2 separate regions of the Homo sapiens genome follow, and region 2 is linked to region 1. Evidence: promoter capture Hi-C in 16 types of primary human blood cells and fetal thymus (Javierre and others, 2016). All regions are on one chromosome and are shown on one strand. Each heading gives the region's core, a stretch centred on a gene start or on the middle of the fragment in contact. The rest is flanking DNA. Distances are from core to core; before and after follow the strand shown.

Region 1 (2,877 bases), core at 184-2,683:
TGTTCCTTAGCTGCAATTGCCTTCTGTCCTGAGATGAGCCACCAGGAATGAGTACATGAGTGAGGGTGGCCTGCTAGCCTGCCTCCCTGCAACACTGGGCCTCCTTCCCATCAGCCAAATGGGAGACCTAACTGAAATCCTCCTTCCTTCCCCACTCAGGTCAGCTGCTACTACAATCCCCTGCCTACTCACGGCTCGTGTCTTCAGAAGCCAAGGGGTCGAGACCCTTAGCAGTGTCCTCCTGAGCCAGGATGTTCTGCAGGAAATCCGCTACCTGAAGCTGGCTGCAGAGCAGCTTGTCTTTCTTCTGAGAGTCCTGCTCAGAGGGAGGGCAGAGACAGGGAACATCCTTACCTCCTTACAGGTTTCCTTAAGTCTGCTCTCTGCCAGTGCTGCCCTGTATCTCAGTAAGAGGAGCCAGGACCAGACCCTGGCTTCTGAAAGGCTCGCTCTCATCTTGTACATACCACCACAAACTCAACCAGGATCTTGGCTGGCAGTTCTGCCTCCTCCTGCAGGCCTACAGGTTCCAAGATGCCTGCCACCTCAGCCAGGACCCTGGAGGGGCAAGGAAACACAGGAAATTGCAGTTTCTTGTGGTGCTAGTTCTACAGTTCGTGTGTGTACACAAACAAATGTGGATGTGTATATCAGTATATATAGTATTGAGAGTCTTGCCTTGACCAGAGTTTACACAAGGGCCTGAAGGGTCCACAGCCTGCAACCAGGAATGGCGTGCATGGAGGGCACACGGTGGTAATACGTGCCAAAAGGAAAATCAGCAGGGCTAGTGGATAAGGAGTTTGAGAAAAGAGCTGAAATTTTAAATAGGGAGTGTCTCACTGAAGAGAAATCATTTGAGTCAAGATGTGAAGGAAGCCAGGGAGATATGCAAGGAAGGGGAAGAATGCTGGGCCTTGGGATCCCTCCTGGCGCTGAGCACCAGCCTTGGGGCAGAGTCTTGGAATAGCTGAGAAAGGACTCAGGGCAGAGGGCTGGATGCCTCGGTCTACTCTAGGGTTTTTCATTATTAGGGACTGGAGCAATCTACGAAGGGGCAGGGATGGGGATGAGAAGTGACTGGGAATGTGTCGTGTTGGGACAAGAAGACAGAAGTGAAACCGTCTCCTAGAGCACATCCTGTGGATTATGTGGATGTGGGGAGCGGCGAACGGTCCCCCAAAGGCTGTACTCCTGGAGCAGGCAACAGACACCTCAGGAACCTAAGACGGGACTGCGGTGAGGATCACTTCACGGCAGGGTCGAACCTCAACAGCTGTACAGGGTCGAGGGCACCAATCATTACACATAGGGGCCCACAAGGTCCTCCCAGGCCCGGCCCCAGCTGCCACTTAGCCGCAAACACTTACTCTAGGGCTGCAGCTTCCGCCTCTGTCTCCGCTGCCTCCATCTTTCCAGGCGCCGAGTTCAGCTGCCTTCCCACAATCCCTAAGATTACTTTGAAGTCACAGTCGACTTCGCGCCGGGGCAGGCGATTGGCTGCAGAGGTTAGTGGGCGGGCATCAAGGACCATTGTGCGCTCTAATTGGCAGGCGCGGATTCGCTCGTTGGCGGGCCTCGCTGCTTGGCGCAAGCGCGGTTATGGCTAGGCGCGCACGGGCTCTGCGCCTGCGCGCTAGTCCTTACGCGGTGCCAGAGACTATAAGTGGGCTTGAGCTCGACCGCGCGCCTGTGGAAGTTCTTTCTCTACTCGAAAAAGGGAAAGCATTTCCTTGAGTTTGCGTTTTAAGGGAAACTTACAGCATTGACACTTTATTTAAAATATTCACTACTGCTGTAGAAAAAAAAAAACAAAACCCCGAAAAACAGTGGGGCTGTTTCTAAGACGCTGGGAATCAGTAAAGAATAGTGATCCGGGAGATACAGGAAGCAAATGATCTGCGCTCAAAAAGCGAGCTGCTTTCAAAGATATTAGTATTTTATAGATGCGATGCAGGAGAGTGAACTCAAGCAGAGCCCAGCCGATTGCCTGCGTTGGCAAAATAGAACAGATATTCTGGGGAGACCAAGGTAGGTAATGTTCTTTGCAGAGTACAGGAGAAAGATAACTGCTGAGAGAGAACTTGGTATTCATTCAGCTGAGTACTGAGCAGTATGTGTCTCAAGAAACTAGCTAAAAGATTTTTAAAGATACCAGGACATGGCCGGTCGCGGTGGCTCACGTCTGTAATCCCAGCACTTTGTGAGTCTGAGGCAGGTGAATTACGAGGTCAGGAGTTTGAGACCAGCCTGGCCAACATGGTGAAACCCCCGTCTCTACTAAAAGTACAAAAAAAATTAGTTGGGCGTGGTGGTGGGCGCTTGTAATCCCAGCTATTCGGGAGGCTGAGGCAGGAGAATTGCTTGAACCAGGGAGGCTGAGGTTGCAGTTAGCCGAAATTGCGCCACAGCACTACAGCCCTGGTGACAGTGCGAGACTCCGTCTCACAAAAAAAAAAAAATACATATATATATATATATAAATATATATATATGGACATTACAGAGGGTCAGAAATAGTCTCTATTTCCACTAACCAGGCTGGAAAACTTCATAGTCCGTAGGACACTGGACAGAGTACACACAAAAAAGTCTTGATTTGATAGTTGTTTACTAATTATTTAGTAGGCAGTAATTAGTCCTAGCTGATCAGTGCTGTAGTGCCATCTAACTCTTAAAAGTAAGACCCAAATGGATCAAACTTAACAAACCATGACAGATGACAAGACCAAACTTCAGCAGTATTTATAGAAATAGAAAAATGTTCACCAAAGGTGCAATTTACATATGTCATACAAAGAAAAATTACCAAGCTTGCAAAAAGAAAAAAAAAAACACATAATGAGGAGAAAAATCAATTGCTGATCAGAACTGAAG
Region 2 (2,877 bases), core at 147-2,646, 3.5 Mb before region 1:
TCACAGAGAACATTGTTCTGCATTTGTGCTTCTTAATCTTGTTGAATAAGAGCATTGCAATGCAAGAAGGCTCATTGGCTAGTGTGGAAGTGGCAATGTGTTGCTTTTGAAAACTGGCTTGTAAATTTGTCCGGGTGAGCTGTTTTTATTAGTATGGTCACTGAAAGTATGGAATCATCAGACAGTAAGCAACCATTGGTAAGTGAGGCAGATGATAAACCCTTATTTAACTCTCCATTTATTATTTGGTTACTGATTTGCCTGCTTGTACTAAAAACAAAGATTTACTTTACTCAGGAAGGAAATAAATTTCTCTCTTGTTTTTTATTTTTGTTAAATAATCAGTTATGAATAAGGGGCATCAGGTCAACATTTCATATATGCTAATGATTGATTGGATAAGAGAGTTCTTTTCTTTAGACCTTCACCTTTGATTTCTAAATGAAAGGTGCTTTCAAAGACTGGCTGCCTGAAATAACACATGATGAATTTACATTACTCTATGGTTTCTTCAGGTAGGTGTGAATGCTTCTTATCAGGTGTGCCAATAAGTCATTTTGTCAAATGTGTAATTGAAACGTCAATGGAGTGGATGAACTCTGTGTAAATATTCAGCTCATCATGTAGTAGCAGGTAATAGAATCATTATTTTGCTAGATTTGAGCTATAGTGATTGGATCGAGGGACACTTTGAAACAGGAGAAAATCACTAACATCATTTGACATCATTCCACTTGGAAGTGGAAAAGTGATTCTATGTAAGGAAGACCTCTCTCACTCATTTCAGTCATCCTTAAATCATAGCATTATATGTCCTTGGAACAACTTTGTGTTCAGTTTTTGCAGTAAAGTCAGATAGGCTTAATGTCCTTTTAATTACCTTATGAATTTCAGGTAGTAGTTGTAAATTGATGTCTTAATATTTACTGTTAGGGAAGTTTCGTTTACCCTGCATACTTCTGGTCTGCAATTTTTAAAAAAAATTTATTGGTCATTCCCAACACTTACAATTCATACATTTTTAATTAAGTCCATGTTTTTGGTTTCAAGTCCATGTTTTTGGTTTCTTTAAAATAATGAACAATATGACAACACTGGCTCTGTGTTTATACAAACATAGATTGGAGTTACATAGCAGCTGCCACATTTAGACAGAAGAAGAAAAGTTCTTCGGTCTGCCACATTCTCCTGTCTTTCTTAATTTTTGCTCTGAGATTGCTAGCCTCCATTTCTTATCATGCTTGCATTGTTGTATTTGTGATAGTAGAGCTAAAAGGGAAATAAAACATTTCCCATAAAAATTGCTTATCAGAAGTGGGAAAATGAAAGCCAGAGGGAGAAGATCATATGTTTTCAGAAACAGTCATGGGATTTTCTTGTGAAATCTGTTTTTTCTAGATTTCTTCCATCTACTAATCTATGAGGCAAAAATGTCCACATTCAAAACCTGCTCCAGGCGGCTTTGCTCCATGTTTCAAACCTTCTTCCTCCACCCATGTTTAGTATGGAGACCACCGATACCTTGCTTTGTGGCACTGATACCTCATAGACTCTCAGGGACACGATTGCTCTTTCTAACTATAAGAAGTACTGATGACAACTGCCAAAGCTCTCCCAGTATGCTTAGTTTTTCTTTTGCTTAGTTTTGTATATTTTCAAAGAAAATCTGTGATTTTTCACCCTGGCATAGAACAATTTACACCCTGATTTTGTTTTACAAATTACAGAGCGGATAGACATAATAGGCAATCCTTTTGTGTGTGTGTGTGTGTGTGTGTGTGTACAGTATTTCATGATTCTTTACCTATCATTCCTGGTCACTCTCTAGAAACTGTATTATGATCATATAGATTCTGGAAGCAATCAGACGTAGACTTCTAGTTCAAATGTTGCTGAAGACCTGAGTTCAGAGAAGGAAGATGGACAAAATTATAATCAGAGAGAAATGCTGCTTCTGTTATTTGTGAGAATTGTAATAGTGCAAGGAGTGAGATTAAGATGTTATTTAAAAAGGAAAAAAAATCTGGTTAATATAGTCCAAGTTCCCAAAGAGAATATATACTGCCAGAGTAAAAATAATAAATGTAAGGGCATTTTCCATTATGCAGTGAACTTGGCCTGAAAACACGGTGTAGAACTTGATTATATATACACAGAAATTATCTGTCTACACCAAGGACAGGCTTGGGGCTCTCTTACCAACGTAGCATTTATATATGTAGTCTCATCTACTTCCTTCTTCCCAACCCCATAACTGACTCTAGATCTTCCTGCTTTAACGGCAAGGTCAGAGATAACTAGAGAAGCAGCATCAGCAACTCTCAGGTCCATTTTTCATCACCAATGAAATGGAATAAAGCAGGTATAAGAGGAAGAAGGCAGCTAAGTGAAACAGATGACCAGGTTTTTAGCCTGTCTCTGCTTTACTTCTCAGGCTTCATGGAGCAAGTATCAGGTGAATATATCTTTATACACATGATATTTAACAACTTTGAAAGATATGCATCCCAGGGCATCAGTCTAATCCACAGACAAACTCCTCCCCTCTGAGGATGAATTAAGTGCAACCTCTGCAAAAACAACAACAACCCTAAGTTAAACATGTGTTTGTATGTGTGTGTGTGTACACACACTGATTATAAATTATATTGATATAAAGGATGTATAACACTCAATTTCTAAATAATAACAAAATATATGATAGTCTCCATTATAAATTCCACATTGCCAGTTGATTCTTATGGAACATTTTCATTGATTTTTGCCCAACTCTTGTATCTGTAGTGAAACTATGGTTGTAATTGATGGATGAGTATAGTTCTGACATAAATGCTGGTTGTAACTCTTATTTACCTTAATGAGTAAGATGAAAAGGAA

The links. Contacts are between HindIII fragments. The CHiCAGO score rates a contact against its expected background, and 5 or more counts as called.
Region 2: a fragment that was not itself captured here is called in contact with the fragment with the promoter of ZWINT in region 1 in 1 of 17 cell types (fetal thymus); the score reaches 10.3 in fetal thymus.

The regions. Positions count from the first base shown.
Region 1 is chr10:56,359,826-56,362,702 of GRCh38, forward strand. It overlaps ZWINT (ZW10 interacting kinetochore protein), which reads right to left and starts at 1,434. Exons shown (of 9, transcript NM_007057.4): 1 at 1,371-1,434; 2 at 468-558; 3 at 193-316; 4 at 1-28. The coding sequence starts at 1,411. LOC124902546 (a long non-coding RNA gene) reads left to right here and starts at 1,634. Exons shown (of 2, transcript XR_007062372.1): 1 at 1,634-2,031. RefSeq lists enhancers at 1-518, 1-404, 1,144-1,883, 1,232-1,401 and a silencer at 1,492-1,701. The HindIII fragment of the contact is 11,189 bases long and covers 1-2,811 here.
Region 2 is chr10:52,820,447-52,823,323 of GRCh38, forward strand. No RefSeq gene overlaps it. Among named protein-coding and RNA genes, the nearest start is that of MBL2, 49 kb to the left of the region's middle. The HindIII fragment of the contact is 7,997 bases long and covers 1-2,877 here.